Regions from separate parts of the Homo sapiens genome. Here region 2 is linked to region 1. The links are contacts of gene promoters, found by promoter capture Hi-C in blood cells and fetal thymus (Javierre and others, 2016). All regions are on one chromosome and are shown on one strand. Each heading gives the region's core, a stretch centred on a gene start or on the middle of the fragment in contact. The rest is flanking DNA. Distances are from core to core; before and after follow the strand shown. Region 1 holds the start of BTC (betacellulin). Region 2 overlaps LOC105377276 (a long non-coding RNA gene).

Region 1 (6,059 bases), core at 1,682-4,181:
CTTCTTTTTATATCTCCAACCCCACTTCTGTCTTTATAAAATTTCTCAAAGAAAGTAGTACCTAATTTGCATATGTTAGAATGGAAATTATCCTGTAAAGATGCATCTACTAAATGCCAGATGTATTTAAGGAGCATCTACATTTGTAATAGACATAAGCCATTTCTAATTTAAATCACATGTTATTTTGTTTACTTTTTGAAAAGAATGTGACATGGAAAGGGCATCACCATCTAATGAAACCTCTTCATTTTACAAATTAGAAAAACAATGCCCAGAAAGTTGTAACTTACAGACATCTCGGAGTCATGAAGTGGTAGAGCTGGAACCAGGGCTCATGTCTGCTCAATGCCCACTCTCATCGCATTTCCACCATCTCACACACACACACACACACACACACACACACACACACAAACACTAGTGTCTCATGCATCTTATTGCTCACATTCTTTTCAAAAAGTAAATAGAACAACATGTGACATAATTTAGGAAGGGGACTTAAAAGTAAAGTGTGTATGACAGAAATAGGGCCACTTAATGGAAACAGCGATGCCAACAAATTACGTTCCTTAGCATTTTGCAAGAAATAGAGCTTTAAGGGGATCTAGAGACCAAATTCAATTTCCCAAGCCAATCATTTAACAGGGCGGTTGTACATTTAGGTTACCCTGAGTGTACAATAGCACTGGATTCGAGTTTTGCTTTTTGATTTTCATTTCTGTCTTTTGACAAGTTTTGTGATAGTAAAGGGGAAAGAATGTCCATCGACTTTCAATAGTCATTTCTACTATGACACCTCTGCTAAAACATCACCCTAATTTAGGCCCCAAGTAGCTCATGCCCAGATTATACCTACGAGACAATCAGGTCCTCTGGCCCACAGGCGCCCCCCCTTCCTATACTGCACCTCACTGACAGATTTATCACCTTTAAACCATTGTTTGCATCATATCACTCCCAGTCAAGCCCTGTGATGGTGTGTGTTTAATAGCTTATTGATTCTGTTCCAAATATTCTAATCTGGCTTTTTCAGTTCTTCATAATCTGTCTGCCTCTCAGAAATTCTACTCTTTCCAGTAAAGCATGCTCATTCGCATCGCCAACCCTTTACTAAATGCTTTTTCCCTTGTCTCTGTTCCCTCTTTCCTCTCTACTATTGCAAACTCTACCCAAGCCTCAAGGCACGCATTCGTGTCCTCCATTCAGCCTTTCCCCACTATTCCAGCCCCCGCTGTTGAGCTCTTTCTCCCTTTTCTGATTCCGTGAATTTTTCCACAGGTTACCCTGCTGGGCTTGCATATCCAAATTCAGTGCAAGTTCTAGGGCAGGAATCATGTTTTATTTTAGGAATCTCATGAGCCCTTTCCCCACCTCCATTGCTACATACCTCAGCACCTTGCTGACTACGACAGATTCTCAGGGAATACTTTGACTGTTGGATAGTTTAGACACGGTGGAGGAAGAGAATGTCAGCTACTTGCAAGCAATGCTGGCAAAAGCATCAGTACTATTTCTAGGGTTAAGTCTCAACCCCATTGCTCTTCTTCATGAATGTACACATTCACTCTACCACTAAATTGTTACTGACTCCTTCCTCTTCAGCGTTTGTTAAATAAGTTTATTTTCTCTAACCTTGGTCCTAAGTCTGATCCACCTCCAAGCAAGTTCACTGTACCTTTTTAGCCACCTCTCTTACTCCAAGGACACAGTCAAATGAAAGTTTTCATTTAGGCTCCCCCTCTCTTTCCTCAATAAGAGGAATTCCCATTCTTTTTCATTTGTGGTGTCCCCTTCCCAGGCTTGAAGGTAGGAGTGATATCGTGGTGACACTTCAGCTGTGGAGACTCTCCTCCTACCACATAAATGCTCCAAACCCAGATGTGTCTACAGCCCAGCTAAGATTAGAAAATGTTACTGGTTTCCCTTCCCTTCTCTGCCCCGCAAAATGACCATGATGCAGAGAGCAAGCTTTGAAGAGTTGGGATTTTTTCCTACTTAGAAGCCTTCTCACTACCTTCCCTCGGTGGAGGGGAAGGGGAAGCCTGCTTCCAGCCACATCTGAAGTTCCAGCTCTGCTTTGTGAGTTCTGACTCCTAAGGAGGCAGGAGAGACCCTCTGGAGGGCTCTAGGCATCCTGCTACTCCTCCTCCCGCTGGCACTCTTCCCTAACGCCAGGTGATCACACCTTCAGTCAAAGAGTTCCCGTTCTTCTGCCTCCTGCAGGATATGCTTCTTGGTCTATACTACCACGTGAGCTTCTTTAGTGGGTTTCCCTGCTCGCCCCTGCCCCCACCCCCCGACCCTCACTTGCGAGCACAGCGCCTCACCCCGGTGGACAGCCCGCCGGCGCCGCCAGGCCCTCTGCTGTGCGCACAAGTCAGCAGCTGGCGGCCTGCTCGCAGCACTGGCAGCGAGGACCTCGGAATCGCTTCCGCCCTCGGGCCTTCTCACGCGTCTAGGGACTGCCTCCAGCAGGTGCAGCCCCAGGTGCCCAATTGCCAGATCTTTAACCTCGCGCTCTCCCAGCCTTCAAAGTTCTCCAACCCGCGCCTGCCAGCCCCAGCGCGCCCTCTTGTCCAGATGCCAGCTCGGTTCAGGGTTCGCCCTCCCCGCGACTCCAGCCCCAGACTTTCCTCCTGGTTTCCAGTGCCCAGCACGGCCACTTACCCAGGGCAAGGGCCAGGAGCAGTGGCAGGGAGCTGGCGCCGCTGCACCGGGCGGCCCGGTCCATCAACCCCGCTCTGCCGGGCCGGGCAGCCCCTAGACAAGTCTCCCTCCTTCTTCGCCCCCTTCCCGGGCCTCGGGCGCCTGAGAGGGTGCCTGGAAACTAATCCCGGAGGCAGAAGGAAACGAAACTACTTCCCAGGCTGGCACCCTGGCTACAAGGCAGGGAAACACCCAGGGCGGGAGGCCGGCCGGCTCCGTGAATGTCGCCGGGAGGAGGGAGCCTCCTATTTATCCCCCCTCCTCCTGCACACACCCCGCCAAAGAGGCGCAGGACTTGGTCCTGGGAGCCTCCACGCTGCTCCCACCCAAATTGCCCCACACCCATACCCACACCCAGGGACATATTCGGGCTGCCCTCGGACCAGCTCACCACTCCCCCTGCTGGGTCTCACCTGACTGACTGTTCATTTCCCTACCCCCTAGGGCGTAAACAAGGTAGGGAGGGAGATGTAAAGAATCCGCGTGGAGGGGTGTCGGGGGTTCCGGTCGGGCCTGCAGGCTGACCTAAACTCCTGGAAGCCACCGAGGAAGAGTCAGAGACCCAAACGTGTTCTGGAATTCTAACTTCCTTTATTTCAGAGGATTGCTAGTGTCATGGAGAAACCAGACTCACCATTCATTGTGGTTGACTTCAGGCATTTGATAATGCAGGCAATTTCAAAAGAGTCATTGTTGCCTTTTAAAGTCTTGAAGCCATAGCGAAACCTCGTCTCTACAAAAAATACAAAAGTAAATTAATAGCCGGGTATGGTGGTGTGCACCTGCAGTCCCATCCATTCCCTGAGGCTGAGGTGGGGAGGATCGCTTAAGCTTGGGAGATGGAGCCTTCAATGAGCCTAGATCGAGCCACTTCACTCCAGCCAAGGCGCAAGAGTGAGACACTGTTTCAAAACAACGACAACAACAACAACAACATCAGCAACAAAAAAAAAAAAAAAAAAAAAGAAAAGAAATGAAAAAAGTCTTCAAGCTAGTGTCTTAGTTTCTGGGTGCATTGTCTTCTAATAATTCATAAAATTGGGGCTCACCAGGACCTACTTTAGAAATTTCATTTGTATTTCTGTTTATGAATTTACTCATGTATTCAGTATATTTTCATTTACTTGCATTAAGCAATTTCTGGAACAGAAAGACATCCTCACAGCTTTTAGAGAAAGCAAGCAGCATCCAATTTTACCTTATGTGGTTATATATTGCCTCCAAGATAACCAAAAGATACAGCTGCTTTTGTACTGGTCTGTGTTCCTCATATAAGATTTATGTGGATAATTATGCCCCTCAGTACAGAAATTTTATTTCTATAGCATCCAAAAGTCATGTAAGCCTTATTTTACATATGAAATGTAGTTTGGGTGTCTGCCTCTTCCTCCTCATCCTACTGTTTAAGTTAAGTAAATTGTTGTGCACTTGTCTCCCACGAATAACATTTCATTTCAAAACTAAATTATTTTACTGCCCCAGGCAACTGATATATCCGGTGGAATAAAAATCAGCTCTTAATTTTCAGAATCCCATTCTAGTCCCACATGACAGCTCATAAAACATTGGTAGAGAGGGCAGGCATGAAGTTTAAAGAAACCCAAAGTTGTAAGATGGAAGGTTACTGCACCCCAGCTAAAAAGAGCAGAAACACTGGAAGCCAATGGATTTTGACATCATCTCCCTCCCTCTCAACACTTCCACCCTGCATTTTTCTTTTCTGATATTCTCTCCATCTCTCAGCACCAGTGCCCTAAGTTAAAGTATCTCTTACTCCAAGATGGCATTTAGCCTAGCCAACAGCTGTCCTGTTAGCCCCAACAGAATGCTACAATTTTGTTTTCCTTTTTCGTAGATACTAATAAAAAAAAAAAAAAGCGAGACCTAAACAAAAAGTACTAAATGTTTGTTGAGCATTGGAAAATTCCAGGACTTGGTGTAAGTATTCATCATTTATGCCATTCAAGTGGTAAATTAACTTTTTCAGGCCACTAGAATATGAAGTAGTATAATTTAATATACTAAATAGGACAGATAAATTAATAACCTTCCTTGAGGGCTTTATTTACCACCATAAATAAAATAAGTACTCCCAAGAAAATCCAAATTTTCTGACACTGGATATCCAATCTCTTCAATGTTAAGAGACTTTTCCTGTCTTTTTTTGTTTGTTTCTTTTTTTTCCCCTCACTTTCTTTCTCTCTGTTCTTCCTCCTCTTCTTCCCTCTCCTTCTCCTTCTTCTTTTTCTCCCCCAGCCCCCAACCACCTCTCTCTCTCAAGTCATTTGCTTATGGGGCATGGTAAAGCTGGAATACAACCATTACATTTGGAAGAGTGGAAGGTAAGAATTGATTTTCCTGAGTCCTCAAACATGTAACTGAGTTGCGTCTCAGTGCTTTCATTTGCAAGCTGAGCTGTTACTAAGAGAAAAATAAACCAAAGTTACACCAGAGTCACAAGGTGAAACTTGTATTCCTAGTTAACCCCAAGGTAGGAATTGCTTGAGTGCTGTTCTTCCTGTGCCAGGTTTAGGCAGGTATAACCAGTCCTCCCAAATCTGGTATGAGGCTTAAGTAGATTCCTTTGGAGGGCCTTTAAGCATCAGCCTTTTTCTCTTCCCACACAGAACAGCCTGCAGCTGGGACCGTCCTCCCCGTCTTCTGGACAGGACAAAATAAACTTGTAGTTACATATAGGGCACAACACATAAACAGACACACGCCATGATGGAAAGGAAAATTTTGGAATGCATTCCTTCTAGGCCAACATGTATTCTCCAAATGAAGGCTTTAAGGCATTCAGTAGTATAGGAAAATTTCCTAATGACCATTAACTTTATTTAATAAGAGTGGGTGAATGAAAATGATGAAAGGCATTTTTAAAATTGTAATTTTTATAGTAATGATAAGCATCATGCATTGTAGATTATTAGTGGTACAGTTACATAGAGAGAACTTTCAAATATTTTATTTAAAACTACTGAATTGGTTTCTAAGAATGTATCAGTGAAAAATCACTGCTCAAAAGTTGTATTCAGGTAATTGTATTTTATAATCTAGTTGTTCTGAGGGAGGTAGTTATTTTTTTTCCTGCCTACTTTCTTGTATCTTCCTCTTCAGTCTAGGGGATCCACTTTTTATATGTATTTCTCAATGTGTTTGATTTGTATCTCTTTTATTTTTATTTATTTTGTTTTTTGAGACAAAATCTTGCTCTTGTCCCCCAGGCTGGAGTGCAATGGCGTGATCTCTGCTCACTGCAACCTCTGCCTCCGGGTTCAAGCAATTCTCCTGTCTCAGCCTCCCAAGTAGCTGGGGATTGCTGGCACCTGCCACCACACCCAGCTAAT
Region 2 (6,059 bases), core at 2,631-5,130, 460 kb before region 1:
TCAGAACTTGAATATATACCAAGAAGAAGCAGGGGCCTGAAATCACATTACTCATATGGCATAGTAAAATAAAAGAAGTGTGTATGGCAGTGTAAAATACAGTGTAAAAGTAGTGTGTATGGCAGTGTAAAATAAAAGAAAGATTCAGAACTAGTGGCCCTCACTGCACCTAAGCAGAGTTATACATAGACAGTCTTATGGAGAAGTTCTATAGCAAATGGTATGTGATGACCTTCCAGAGAACAAATTCCAACTTAAGATGACCTCATGAATAAAAATTATAAAACACACAGATAATTTCAGAGGAGAGGGTGTCCATAGACCCAACTAGTGTGGAATTCATACCAAAGTAATTAGAGAAATTATGATCTAACTGGCCTTTTGAAAAGTGGAGCTTAAAATGTTCAGAGACAAGAAAGGAAACACCCCAGAAGATAAGAGCATTATATGGATAAAATAGACAAGTAAAAATCCTACAGTTAAAAATACAGTCTTCAGTATTTAAAAACATATCTTGTAAGTAGAATAAGTACTACAGTAGGCACAGCTGAAGAGAAGATTAGAAATATGGAAGATGATCTGAAGAAATCAGCTAGAATGCATCACAAAGTAAAGAGATGTAAAGCATGAAAATTTCAGAAAAAAAAAAAAAGCCCAACATGAGTTCCAGAAGGAAAGGCTAGGTTAGAGGAAATATCTAAGAGATAATGGCTGAGAACTTTCAGAATGAAAGCAGGATATAAATCTTTAAATTGAAGTTGTATTCATAGTCTTAAAACTTAGTTTAAAAAACATAGTTTAAAAACTTCAAAGCCATACACACAAAAAGAAATATTACTAAAAAAGAAAACTAGTTAATTATAATGGCAGTAGATTTCTCATCAGTGAAAGTAGATGCCATAACACAATGGAATAAAGTGTTCAAAATACTCAGGGGAAATCTCTGTTAACATAGAATTCTACCACCTTTGATAGTAAAAACAAAAAAATAGACATTCAGCCACAGCCACAAAGGATCTTGGTATTTCTAACAAGTAAACTCAAACCACTTATGTATAATTGAAGCTACAAAAATTCAACCATGGTCTATACAACAAGTTAATTTCACATTTTTTTCAAGGACAGACAAAGTTTAAATGCAAAGTTTTCTAGGACAAATATTTTAACAGATATAGTTTTTTAAACAAACATTTTGTGACTCAGGATTATAAATCAACCAAATTTATAAATTATTTTATTCTTCTTAGCAAACATATGGAAAGAGAAACTCAACTTTATGATGATAATATAAAAAACAAACAAAGACTTACCACAATGGTTCATGCTTATAACTTCACCTCTTTAGGAGGCTGACGTGTGAGGGTCACTTGAAACCAGGAATTTCAGACCAGCTGGGCAACAAAGGGAGACCTCATCTCTAAAAAAAATTGTTTTAAATAAATTAGCTGAGTGTGGTGGCACACGCCTGTGGTCCCAGCTACTCGGGAGGGTGAGGTTGGGGATGGCTTGAGCCCAGGAGGTCGAGGCTACAGTGAGCTGTTATTGCACCACTACATTCCAGCCTGGTGATGAAACAGGAATTAAAAGAAATTAAAGAACGTGTAAGCGAAAACTCAGTTGTATGTAAAAAAACCCAATTCCCCCTGAGAAAGAAAAAGAGGTGGAGTCCTTTAAAAATTAACGCCTGTTTTTCTGTCTGTGGCTTGTGAGTCTTATCTCTCTCTTTCCCAGGCATTGCGAAGATCCTGTTTCTCTAACTGTGCAGTTGCAAGGTTACTAGGCAGATAAACTCAAGTCGTAAAACATGTTTTTCCTTGAAAAGTTAGAAATAATGTAATGAGTGTCTCAATTGAATAACGGTCTTTGTTTCTCACTTCTGTAATATGCTTCCCCCTGCAAAGATCTCCCGCTGCCCCATGAAATGCTTAAAAGGTAACCTCACTCTTTGTTCGGGGCTCAGTCTTTTTGGATGCTAATCTGACTAGGCCAGTGCACCTAAATAATAAATAATATATATCCTCTCCGGCCCCTCAGTCTCTCTGATTCCTAAATTATCCCACTGCAGTGACACAGTGAGATCCTAAGAAAACAAACAATAAATTTAATGTAATTTTGTAGTAATTCACCGGTTAATGTTTGCTTACTTTCTTTTTTCTATATAATCTATGTTATAATCAGAGGTTTACCTTTCCAAAGACTAATGGTAGTTGTCTTCTAATTTTTTTCAAGTTTCCCCATTAAACTCATCCTTAGGGCTTGTAAACTCCTATTGTCCTTCCCAGCAAAGTCTAAGTTGAAGAACGTAGAGCTTATAATATTCTGTATCTACAAAAGACTAAGAGTTTAATATCTCTTGTATTGGTTCATTCTCACACTGGTGTAAAGAATTACCTGAAACTGGGTAACTTATAAAAAGAGATTTAATCAACTCACAGTTCCACAGGCTGTACAAGAGGCATGCCTGGGGAGGCCTCAGGAAAGTTACAATCATGGTGGAAGGGTGAAGGGGAAGCAAGCATGTCTTTACATGGTGGCATGAGAGAGACAGAGAAGTGGGAGTGCCACACACTTTTAAACCACCAGATCCCACGAGAATTCACTCACTATCATGAGAACAGCAAGGGGGACATGCACCCCCATGATCCAATTACCTGCCACCAGGTCCTTCCCCCAACATTGAGAACTGCAATTCAACATGAGATTTGGGTAGGGAGACAGAGACAAACCATATCACCTCTAAACGATACTGAAGACTGCCAGTGAATGTATTTCAGCAAGATGAAACAAGAACCCAGGAGAAAAAAATACCATGCAAGTATCAGTGATGAGCAAGGAAGTCAGAGATATGTGTTTGTCAATTGAGTAGAAATTAAAATTAATTTGTGACAACATTTACAAATTAACAATGTGAAACTTAAACACCAGACAACAATAATAAAGGAAGATTGGAGGGAAAATTTAGAAAGGAGTTCCGGTGTGCTAAATTCTTGTCTTGTTCAAATAAAGAACAAAGATATTGACTAAAAAGAGACCATGTTACAAAATTATAAAAACTAAGAATGACTGTAAAAGATATAGTTAACTATTAATATCATTAAATATTTATGTCTTAAGGAGAAGTACTATGTATCACTTTTAAAATAGGAGAGAAACTAAAAGCAGGGACTCCAGTGCTACAAAGCTTGGGTTTCTTGGTGCCACCATTTACAATACATGAACCTTGGGAAAGCTATGTAAGCTCTCTTCACCTCAGTTTCTTCATTCATAAAATGGGGATAATAGTAGAACTAACTCATAAAATTGTTATAAGGATTAGCTAATAGGTGATTTAATATACTAGTTACATATGGAGTTATGACTTCAATATATGGAAAGCACATTGAACAGAGCATAGTAAGAAAAAAATACTATATAAGTTTAGGTATTTTATCTATATTATCTAATTTCATATGTTAAAAAGAACTGGAAGCAAATATTAAAAATTTACAATTTACAAGGTGGGTATATAAATTTTGAGTAGATAAATCTTTGGACTGTTCTACGTTTTTAAAATTTATCCAAAAAAAAAAAAAAGGCAGGAGTAAAGAAAGAAAGGGAGGGAGAGAGAAAGCTGGGAGGAAAAAGGGGAAGAAAAACTTCAGGTGACTACCCAGCAAAGAGCAAAAGACGGGAGATATTTCTGTTATTGTGACCCAAAAGTTGTCAAGGCCTATAAAATGCAGATTACACTTGGATTAAATAGAAACATATTAACATAACCAAGTACTGTAATGATTTTAAGGAGAATGTTGAAAAATGGAGGACGCTCACCTAGAAATACCCAAGTATAGCTGCCTGTCTCTTAAAACTGTCATGAAAAATATTGATCATAAAATTGAAACCTTTATGAGAATGATTTCTTATATCTGTGCTGCAAGGTTACATAATGAACAAAGACAGGTAAAACTCATCTCAGAATGGAGTAAAATTAGCTGCATCTTCTGTTTCAAGTAAGATTGAATATTTTCCTTTGTTTTTTGGACATTTGTCATTCTAGTTTAGTAAAATGTCGGTTCATCTTCACAGCTTATTTATCTATTAGGTTGAATGATTTTTTAATTTAGATATAAAAAATTTAAAACACTTCAAATATTAACCCTTTAACATTTGTGTTGCAAATGCTTATTCCAAGTCATTTCCCCATTTTTATTTAGTCTATATTTCTCTTTGAAATACATAATTTTAAAAGTGATATTTTCACATAGAAAGATCTTTACCACAAGTTATTTTTGCTTTAGAAGTTTTTCCATTCACACACAAAAAAGTTGACTTATTTTATTTTTTAAAGATTCTGTGTATAGCAAGATGAAAATTTTAGTTCTTTTTAAATTTATCATGACTCATTTGTCACGTATCTATTTATTATATATAGTAAGGCAAAAAATGTATACTATATATATTTACTTTGTATTCATATTTACAAGATCAAGTCCTATTTTATTGCTCACTCTTCCTCTTTTAGAACCAGTCCAATACATATATTTAATAAGTACAGCTATATAAAATGCTTGGAGTTCAGGTAAAGTTAGAATATTATTATCAAGCTTAATTTTCAAAATTGTATGCCTGTTAAGCTTCTGAGAAAACAGAGCCGGGCACAGTGGCTTACATCCATAATCCCAGCACTTTGGGAGGCTGAGGCAGGTAGATCACTTGAACCTAGGAGTTTGAGACGAGCCTGGTCAACATGGCAAGAGCTCATCTCTACTAAAAATATGAAAATTAGCCAGGTGTGGTGGTGCATATCTGCAATCCTGGCTACTTGAGAGGCTGAGGCACAACAATCACTTGAATCCGGAAGTTGGAGGTTGCAGTGGGCTGAGATCTTGTCACTGCACTCCAACCTGGGTGACAGAGTGAGACTGTCTCAAAAAGGAAAAAACAGTTCCCTTGTAATAGATCGTATATGAACATGATATAAAGGATAATAAAAAGGGTATTCAGATAATGGTAGTACTTCCTTCCATTATTGTTTCCTAACCACTAGTTATACTTTTCAGAGATAAAAATTATTTTGTATCACTTCACATATTTTCTAAGCATAAACTAGTGACACAGGATTCTGTTGTTCAGCATGCAGAGGGAATGGCACCCAAGCAGCTTCTTTTCTTCCCTGTGGCTCCACCAGCAGGAGGGAGCGGTTACTGTGTTACAGGAGTTTTTTGGGGGTACTTAGCCAGCCGGAAATCTCATAGCCAGTGGCGTCTCTGCCCCAGCTTCGCTCATGACCACAGGGTTTGCTCTGCCCACTCAACCCAGTGGGCTACACTCAGCTCGCGCTACCAGCCCAGAACCTGCTCCCGCTGCAGCTCTGCACTCAGCTTGCTATTGGTCCAGGCATGTCGCAACTGGCTTCCACCTTGGGCACTGGTGTCTGGATGAGGGGGATGTAGTGGTGCCCAAAAACTAGGAGTGGCAAGCAACTGCGGAGCTCCAAGTGGTGTTATGGCTCTCACCCAAGGAGTCCTGAGGTCTGAGCCACCAAGAGATGTTACAGCTCCCTCGCGTTCCTGCCGCCTGCAACATGGCAAACGGGGGCGTGTTACAGATCATTCGTTTTACAGTTCATTTGTGTTATATCTCGTTTGTTCCCGCTGCCCACAGGGCGAGTTCTGGGTTTTTGTCCTGCAACCAAGAGGAATTAGGTACGCAGACAGTGGAGAGTAAGCAGCGTGGAGAAGAATTTTATTGAGCAACAGAAGGAAAGCTGTCAGTGGAGAGGGGACCCAAGGGAGGGAAGTCATCTGCGTGAGAGGGGGCCCAGAAAGTGAGTAATCCAATGTATGGCTCAGTTCAGGGTTTTCAATGGCTCAGAAGAGGAGAGTGCATTCTGACTGGTCCATGGGGAGGCGTGGAAAAAGCACCATTTGACTGGCTAAAATGCGCTGAGGGTATTCTCACTCTGGTCTTGGACGCTATCCAGAACTGTCTGCTGGGTTTTCAGGCTTCAGGCTGTCTTTGGCTTGAAGGTCGGCTTTCACCGGGGACCTGTCCCTATCTGCCTAGGAATCTGTCTGCCT

Evidence for each region. Contacts are between HindIII fragments. The CHiCAGO score rates a contact against its expected background, and 5 or more counts as called.
Region 2: a fragment that was not itself captured here is called in contact with the fragment with the promoter of BTC in region 1 in 1 of 17 cell types (endothelial precursors); the score reaches 5.2 in endothelial precursors.

What each region holds. Positions count from the first base shown.
Region 1 is chr4:74,791,592-74,797,650 of GRCh38, forward strand. BTC (betacellulin) reads right to left here and starts at 2,932. Exons shown (of 6, transcript NM_001729.4): 1 at 2,671-2,932. The coding sequence starts at 2,734. The HindIII fragment of the contact is 1,569 bases long and covers 1,970-3,538 here.
Region 2 is chr4:74,328,888-74,334,946 of GRCh38, forward strand. LOC105377276 (a long non-coding RNA gene) reads right to left here. Exons shown (of 3, transcript NR_188415.1): 2 at 1,311-1,417. Among named protein-coding and RNA genes, the nearest start is that of EPGN, 23 kb to the left of the region's middle. RefSeq lists a cis regulatory region at 1,600-1,899. The HindIII fragment of the contact is 1,402 bases long and covers 3,180-4,581 here.